Linked DNA regions of Homo sapiens: region 2 is linked to region 1. Evidence: promoter capture Hi-C in human tissues and cell types (Jung and others, 2019). All regions are on one chromosome and are shown on one strand. Each heading gives the region's core, a stretch centred on a gene start or on the middle of the fragment in contact. The rest is flanking DNA. Distances are from core to core; before and after follow the strand shown. Region 1 holds the start of CDC37L1 (cell division cycle 37 like 1, HSP90 cochaperone). Region 2 overlaps BRD10 (bromodomain containing 10).

Region 1 (4,577 bases), core at 1,780-4,279:
CAAATCATAATTTATGTAAGCCAGTTCTGGCCAATAAGATATAAGGATTTCACTAGAAGGTTTCGAGAAATATCTTTATTCTTCATATGAGAGCCACAAGTGAATAAAGCTGTTTTGCCTCCTTCTCTGTCTTCCTGCTTTAGCTTCTGCCATATTTTGATGTGATGTCCAGAGCTGTAGCAGCCATCCTGCAACCATGATGTAAGAAGCCTGAAGATGAAAGTAAACAGATTTAGGATGCTGGGGAGGAGGGATAGGGATTGAAAGAACCTGAATCTTCCTTTCCTTTTCCTTTCCTTCCCTTCCCTTCCCCTCCCCTCCCCTCCCCTCCTTTTCCTTTCCCTTCCTTTCCTTTCTTTCTTTTGCGACACAGTCTCGCTCTGTCACCCAGGTGGAGTACAATGCTGTGATCTCAGCTCACTGCAACCTCCACCTCCCGGGTAGCTGGGATTACAGGCATGCACCACCAGGTCTGCCTAATTTTTGTATTTTCAGTAGAGACGGGGTTTTGCCATGTTGGCCAGGCTAGTCTCGAACTCCTGGCCTCAAGTGATCCACCCGCCTTGGCCTCACAAAGTGCTGGGATTACAGGTGTAGGCTACCACGCCTGGCCTGAACCTGAATATTTAATGACATCTTCAAACTGCTAAGCCTATCCTGGGATCATTCTTTTTGTTACATACACAATAAATGTCCTTATAGTTTAGGTTTCTTTTAGCTGAGGTTTCAGTTATTTGCATTGAAAGCATATAATTGATATAGCAGGGGTGAGACATGATATGATTTATGTATTTTTTAAAAATCTCTCTGGCAACAGTATGAAGAGATTGTAAGGAGCAAGAATGGAACAGAAGCATGGAAGACTACTGCAGTAGTTCTGAGAAGCAATCATAGTGTTCTGGCCTAGGGAGTATGCAGTAAAGCAGGAAAGAACATAGATTCAAGATGTATTTGGGGGTAAAAACAGTAGGACTTGCTGTTGGTATGAGAGGTAAAGGAGAGGGAGGAACTAAGGCTGAACTCTAGGTTTTGGACTGGATGGTGATGCCATTGATTGACACGGAGAAGACCCAAAGAAGTTTGGGGAAGGCGGTGAGATCAAGGGTTTGGATGTGTTAAATTTAAGATGTGTATGAACCATTAAAATGAGATGACAAATCAGCGGGTAGACATGAGTCTGGAGCACAGGGGTAAGGTCAGGACTTGGATTTCAATTTGAGAATTATAGATACACAGATGTTATTTAAAGCCACAGGAATAAACAGGATTCTCCTCACTGGCCAAAATATGAGGAACTCTAAAGTTAGAGGTCAGCTAGAAGGGAAGAAGACTGAGGAGAAGTAGTGAAAGAGGTAGGAGAAAAACTAACAGCATTAGCGTTTATATAGGGCTTACTTTATGCCAGGCACTATTCAAAGCACTTTGTGGCTTCATGGAAGCAAAGAGAAAAATGTTTTTCTTTTCTTCCTCCCTTTCCAGTCTCTCCTGTGACTTTCACCCCTAAATTCAAAAGGTTTAGGTGCAAAAGTGATTCTCAGCTTTTATTTGTAATTAATTTTATAGTAATCTTGTACTGTTATAATCTTGTACTGTTATAATACTATAATTATAGTATACATTCATTGGAAAAATATTCAAACAGCACAGTACAGGGAAGCTAAATGTGGAAAGTAAAGATCCTCAGAAGCTTTCCTTCCTAGGCTCACCCACCAGAGGTAATCATTAACAGTTTCTTGCATATCCTCCAGGAATGTTCTGCGCAAACACACACACACACACACACACACACACACACACACACGGACGCAAACAAATACCATCCCTCTCTCTTCTCTCTCTGTATACGTACGCATATGTTTAATTCTGCAAGTTGCTTTGTTTAAAACTCAATACCTTTTGGAGGTATTTATATATCAGCATATTCAGATACAATTTACTTTTTTTAAAAAGGGTAATATGCCATTGTATTAATATTCCATACTTTAAGTTCCTCTATCGATGGACAATTAGAATGCTTTTTTTTTTCTTGCCACACACACACAAAAATTGCTGCCAGAAATCTTTGTAGTAAATCTTTGGATATTGGTGCAAAAATAATTGTTGCATACTTTCTTAGTGGTGAAATTGCTGAATCAATCCGCTCAAGCCTCTCATATTGTCAAATTACTCCTCCTAAAAGGTTATACTAATGACATTCTCACATCATTTCCTTACATCTTGGTACACATTTGGTATTAAGCGACTTCACAAGTTTGCCAGTCTAAACACATGGAAAAAAATGGCGTCATGTTGTTTTTATTTGGGTCTCTTTATGAGTAGGGCAGCAAGACCTGATTGTTAAACGTTCAAGTTTTGAAGTTAAACTCCCTGGGTCTGGATCCTACTTCTTCCTTGTAAAATGTGTGATCTCGGGCATGCTGGGTCTACTTCCTCGTCTCAAAAAAAGAGGATAAAGAGAGTACATATCTTTAGGCTTAAACAAGATACGCAGGCATACAGGAAGCCCTTCTTATGCGTTCGCTACTAGCGGTACTGATCCTAATTTTTTTGAAGCCGTGCCGGCTCCGGTACTTTATTTTTGGTGTGCTCCTCCAACCAACCAAGTTTCGCAGAATTCTGTTGTTGCCTGTAATTAGAAATGAGACGAAAATTGGCTCCGCTTGTTCAAAATTCTCCTCCCTCCGCCCCAACTCTGCCTTAGAATCACTGGTTTAAATGTCAATGTAAAGGAATGAGTTGCAATTTTTAAGCAACATGTAAAGTGCACACCTGGTCTGAGTACCTCCCGGCGGCCAGGACCCGCCGTTTTCGGTATAGGGAACACCAGATAACAATATATAACGCTACCTAACAAACGTTTCTCCACCCACAGCGCCATTAGCGGTTAGGTTTGCAGTGCCGAAGAGCTGCAAGAAAACGGGGCTTGAAACAGGAATACAATTGCAGATCCACCCACTACACGCAAAGGGCCCGGGACGCGCCTCCACAGCCCCGCCCCAACCGGAAGTGACGCACCGCGCCGACTATTTCTTCCGCCGTCCGCCGGTGGCGAGGCCCAGGCTGTCGCCGGGTGTGCAGCGGCGTCGCGGCCAGTAGAGGGATTCTGGGTAACGGCCCGGACCCCCGGCTGGGCTTCTGGCTCGGCGCAGCAGGTTCCATTCACGCCAAGTCTGTTGGCAGTGGCAGTTGTAGGGCCAAGGGCGGTTGTAGGACCCGGAGCAGCCGGACATGGAACAACCGTGGCCGCCTCCGGGACCCTGGAGCCTCCCTCGGGCCGAGGGTGAGGCTGAGGAAGAGAGTGACTTCGACGTGTTCCCCAGTTCTCCCCGCTGCCCGCAGCTGCCAGGCGGCGGCGCCCAGGTGAGAAGGGGCCTGCGTTCTGCGGAGGGATGGAGTGGTGCTGTCGCCAAACCCCTGGAATGCCGCGTCTCCCAGACCCTCTTCTACGCCTTTTTCTACGCCCACCTCACTGCCAGGGGCCGGGGACCTGGGACCTGACGCCTGATGCCATCCCACCCCTTTTATGGCATCTTCGGAGGGCAGACGGGGTGGCCATATATTACCAACCTCCACCTCCACGCACATGTTTTCTTTCGCCTTGGCTGATTCCTGTTCACTCTTGGAATACCTTCCTCCATCTCCCCTTCCTGACAGCACTCAGATTTGGGGCGGCTCATGCTGTAACATTGACCCTTTGTCCTCTTGTGAGAGGTTTTCCCCAAGCACTTTATTCTGTTAAAGGCTCTAGCATACTTGTGCACAGTTGCTAGGAACAGTGAATGATTGTAGTTCAGCATCACACTGAGTCCTGACAAAGATTTCACATGCGATTTTCACCGATGTTGACAACTGAGTAAATTCTTTAAATCTCGCTTTTGACGCTGGCGTACACCTCTCCCATTCGCGTGACCATCTTTGCCTTACTGTTTTGTTTTTTAGTTTTGCTTCACGTCATTCTCCAGTGAAAATATATACGCATATACTTGTGTTTTCCTTCAGACTTCTCTTAGGTTCCTGGTATTGTGTTTTCAATCCAGCATTCCTGCCTTCCTGCGACTGAAACGTATCCAAATGTGATATACTATTAAGGATTTTTCAGGGACCTATCTTAGGGGATACTTACATACTCGCATCACCTTGTCCTGTTTTTTTCTCCGAATCCGTGTGTGTTTTGGAAGTATATTTCAGAATCACAGACTAAACACTAATATATTCAATGGATCATAAGTGTCTGCCGCCTTCTTGCAAAATGGGGTTCCCAAGAGTGTAACAGATTTAATAGTAGTTTTCCTCTCAACTTATTTTGCTAGATGTTAATGAGAATGAGTTAAATTGCTTACCAGTAAGCGTGACATTATCAATCTTATGTCCAGCTAACAGGGTTAGTTGGCTTCACACAGAGAAAAATGCTGTTTCATAACCACTGTCTGTACTTTGGCCAGCTAAGTCACTGGGGAACTACAAGACATTTTTTAGGAGGACAGAATGAGAGTTGATGGGTCCATCATTAGTCACCCACTAATTTTGGATCACTAGTGTCATCTTTATATACAAAATGTATTATAAGCACATGATGT
Region 2 (4,589 bases), core at 835-3,334, 1.3 Mb after region 1:
CAGCACACCTTAGAAATACTTTCCAAGAACAACTAATTAAATTAGGAAAGACAGAAAATTTTACTGGGGAATTCTGACAAAAAAATTTGCATATTTGATAGATAAGCATCATTCATCTAAGCTTCTGTCTACATTTATGTATCTTTACAAGCTCTGTGCTACAACAGCCATTAAAACCAAGTATCAAAATAAACCTAACTTAAAACAAGCCTTTCAAATAGCTCTACAGCCAAGTACGAAACCAAGATTCTCAAAACTAATGAAGTATCACAATGCCCTCACCAAAAACTTTTTATACCATCAATAATGTTAAAAAATTTTTTAAATATGCTTATTTACTCTCTCATTTTAAGTATCTAGCTTAGCTTATGTTTTATAATATATAAAACATAATAGTAAAGTATCCATATATGATTTATAAATAAATATGCATAATCGAAGGTATATATTCAAAATGTTTGCTGCTTGAGAAGCCAGATCATGAAAGTCTGGAGACCACTGCTCTTATCTGCAGCTATAAGCTACCTCACACACAAAAAGGTTTTCAGGAAAAGAAGTAGTCTTCATACCCACAAAAAAGCACTTATTAAAGACCATTAAACTTACTTTCTACTTGATTTTTACCTTCTATTTTCCCAGTCATTACCTTATTCCCCCTGAATTTCTTTTTCGTCTTCCTTCAGACCTCCAGTCCCTTGTCTGACTCTCATTTGCTGTAACATAATTCAACTTCTTTTAGCTATTCACATAGATAACCAGTTGAGACCCATAATACATGACTAACCTCTTCTCTTATCTCCCTGGACCAATTATATTTCTGTCTCAGGCATGTAGCCTCTCTCTTAAATCTCAGCCAAAGGCCCCTTCACTCCTATACTTCTCCTACTGAGCAGGGTAGAAAAAATAATCCCCTTATAATCTGTTGTCTAACTATAACCTCAGCTGGGCTCAACTGTACCTAATATGACTTCTTTGAAGGTGGTCAACTCCCTCTTTCATTCTCCATAACAGCAACTTCAAATGCTATCATTTTTCTTTTTTTTTTTTTTTGAGACAGAGTTTCGCTCTTGTTGCCCAGGCTGGAGTGCAATGGCACCATCTCGGCTCACTGCAACCTCCGCCTCCCTGGTTCAAGCAATTCTCCTGCCTCAGCCTCCTGAGTAGCTGGGATTACAGGCATATGCCACCACGCCCGGCTAATTTTCAGCATTTTCAATAGAGACGGGGTTTCTCCATGTTGGTCAGGCTGGTCTCGAACTCCTGACCTCAGTTGATCCACCCGCCTTGGCATCCCAAATTGCTGGGATTAGAGGCGTGAGCCACCATGCCGGCCCAAATGCTACCACTATTCAAAAGCTTCATTCCATCACTTTCTCGCAGGTGACTGCCCATAACTTATTTCAGAGAAAACGGCAGTTTTTAAGTAAGAGCTCCATTAACTTCCTGCTTCTCAAAAACCAAAATTATCTAAATCCAGGCCCATCCTTACTTTATGTTTCAGTGAAAAATGTGCCTCCAATCCTCTAATGAAAAATGAATCACTACACAGGTCTTCAGAATTTGTATTTCATTAATTATCTTCTGAGCCTTCAAACTCTCTTTCTCTGTCTGTTAGCTGCTTTAGCATATAAACAAGTCCAAGTTTCCCTGAGGAACATCTAAACTGCTGATCCAATTCATCTTTCATTCACATCTCAATCTATAATGTGGCATCTGCTTGGAGCTACTCCACTGAAATCCCTCTTCCCAGAGATCTCCCAGTTAGGAAATGCAAAGGGTATTTTTCAGTTCTTATTTTAGTCAACCTTTCTATACCCTATCTGGTCACCCTTTGTTAAGAACTTGAATTGGACTTTGCAGAAAGAACAGTTTTAGATAGATAGGAAAGAGTGGAGAGAGAATACTAAATAAAGACAAAAATATTCATTCATATTATTCAAATATATTCATCAAAATATTTACTGAGCCACAGGGATTTAGCAAAGAACACGCTAACAATTTGTACATATGGAATTAAAAGTATAAACATCAAAGATGACTGATACATTCAGGCTGAAACAATGATAACACCACTGACAAAAATGTGAAAAGTCAAAAAGAAAAACAGGAAAACTGGGAAGGAGATTTGGGCTAGAAATATACTCAGTTTTTAACATTTTGAGATAACAATTACACAACCAACTGGAAAAGTTCTATGGACAAAAATATGAAACTAAAACTAAAGGCGGGGGGTTCAAGATACTGATTTAGGAGCCCTTAGTGGTAAGTAAAGCCATTAAACAACAACAGTAAATAAATACATATATAAAAATAAATGTATTTATTCCTCTCCAGAGGAGAAGAATACAAACAAAACCTTCCAAAGCCATTATTCATTTCTGCAACAGCAACAGGTAAATGACATAACGCCCCAAAGAACAACTGAAGACCATGTAACTTGGTTTTTTTTTTTGTTGTTGTTGTTGTTTTTGAGACAACGTCTTACTCTGTCACCCAGGCTGGAGTGCAATGGCACAATCTCAGCTCACTGCAACCTTTGCCTCCTGGGTTCAAGCAATTCTTGTGCCTCAGTCTCCCAAGTAGCTAAGATTACAAGCATATGCCACTATGCCTGGCTAATTTTTGTATGTTTAGTAGAGTTGGGATTTCACAGGGTCTCTCACCACATTGGCCAGGCTGGTCTCAAACTCCCGACCTCAGGTGATCTGCCCACCTCTGCCTCCCAAAGTGCTGGGATTATAGGCATGAGCTACCATGCCCGAGCCATGTAACTAATTTTTAAAAAATCGTTTTGCTTAGAATATATTTATTCTGTTTTTCTGAATTTAGGAAAGGCACAAAGGCAAATGCAAAGTTTTTATTTACAGACAAACAGTATTTGAAAAGTGCCTTATCAACCTTGACAAGTGTGATAAGCATTTTTAGTAAGTTAGGGCTGCTCTGCTGAACATACTACTACTGCTACAGCTATTCCTACTTCTCAGGAGTTCTCAATGCAGGCAGAACAGAAGCTCTCTAGGTCACTAACTCTCATACTGTCTCAATATGCTAATGTTCCCTAGAAGATGCTAAAAATGTAATGAGTCTGCAAAGTACGCAGGTAAATACCTTGGCTTCCTGTCCCTGGCCAACTCTTCTATTTATCTCCTAAGCATTGATGAGGCTTTAAAGTAGCTGATTGTAAATTTAGGACACTTTCAGATTCAGACAATGGCACAAGGAAGAAAGGCAGGAAAGCTAGAGCAAGTCTTAGCGCCTGCCTACCTGAAATAACAGGTCTTAACAAAGAGATATAGGGACTTGGCAAGAGCTAAGGACATAATTAAAATGAGAAGAATGTAGCAAGTGGCTATTACAGTGTCTACAGAAAATAAGTAATGCTATCAACTTTTCATCTTTCACTTCATGAATGAGAAGAATACCACTCTTATTCCCCACAAACTAGTGATTTTTATTGTTTTCTTGCATATTTCTTATGCGAAGTGAACAAAACATGGGTGATGCAAATGTTGCTTCTGCTATACTTATTTAAAAGCCACATATCTAATGGAAAAATAAATACATGAAAAAATGGGTTTTTTTTTTGACAGAGGACTCACTCTACCAAATATATTAAAATAAATTCTAAAGTCACAGTAATAAAGTTTAATATCAGAAGATGAATAGTTAGATCAACAGCACACCAGAGAAAGTTAGATCCAAGTACACCAGAGACATATGATAAAGAAAAATAGATCCAAATACACCAATAATATATCATAAACATGGTAATTCAAAATAATGGAGAAAGTTGATGTTGCGACAACTGGCTGGGTATTTGAGAAAAAAATTAAGCTGGATTTCAACCTCACTTCTTCACCAAAACAAATTTCAGGCAGATCCATCCATCCATTCATTCATTCCTTCATTCAATATTAACTAAGCACTTATAGGTAGTGGGGTAGGTTTGGCAACAACACAGACAACATTCCTGTCTGCTCTGAGCTTACATGGATAGCAAAGAAGATACACAAAAAGTAAGCACACACAATACATAATAAATAAGTTCAAACTATAAGTTACATACTGTACGTTTTGTAAAGGACAGTCAAGAACACTTACTTAAGTGGTAACAATAGAAAGAAATAGGCAAGATTTAAAATATACTTTAGAAGTAGGAAGAATCAATGAAAAATGCTATTTTTTTGGCTAGAGCAATTTGGTGGATGGTCAAATCTCTAAGACTAAACTTAGTAAAAATAAACAAAAAAAAGAAAAGTTCTGTTTTGAACATGTTAAAGTTTGAGATGGCTACTGGACACTCAATTGGATAAAAGAAACTATTAACAGTAGGATTGGCCTCTTAACAGTAGGAGACCTGGAGACTGGTGAAAGAGGGAGATTTTCTCTTGTACTGTTCTATTATTGCCCCAGGATGTACACATTTTAATTAATAAACTATTACGAATATAAACACTAATCACTGGATTGCTAAAAAGTCTACATATATTAGTTACAATTCAACTATTTCCTTTAGATTTCCATAATATGTATACACATAACATTTTAATAATCTATATTGCAAATACTGTCAATCCTACCACCACAGG

What was found. Contacts are between HindIII fragments. The study calls those that stand out against the background at their distance.
Region 2: a contact is called between a fragment that was not itself captured here and the fragment with the promoter of CDC37L1 in region 1, in 1 of the 25 tissues and cell types used here (lymphoblastoid cells).

What each region holds. Positions count from the first base shown.
Region 1 is chr9:4,676,540-4,681,116 of GRCh38, forward strand. CDC37L1 (cell division cycle 37 like 1, HSP90 cochaperone) reads left to right here and starts at 3,030. Exons shown (of 7, transcript NM_017913.4): 1 at 3,030-3,360. The coding sequence starts at 3,229. CDC37L1-DT (CDC37L1 divergent transcript) reads right to left here and starts at 2,941. Exons shown (of 2, transcript NR_121598.1): 1 at 2,848-2,941; 2 at 61-210. RefSeq lists an enhancer at 3,164-3,253. The HindIII fragment of the contact is 7,477 bases long and covers 1-3,230 here.
Region 2 is chr9:5,993,867-5,998,455 of GRCh38, forward strand. All of the region lies in intron 1 of BRD10 (bromodomain containing 10), which reads right to left. Among named protein-coding and RNA genes, the nearest start is that of MIR4665, 12 kb to the right of the region's middle. The HindIII fragment of the contact is 6,479 bases long and covers 1-4,589 here.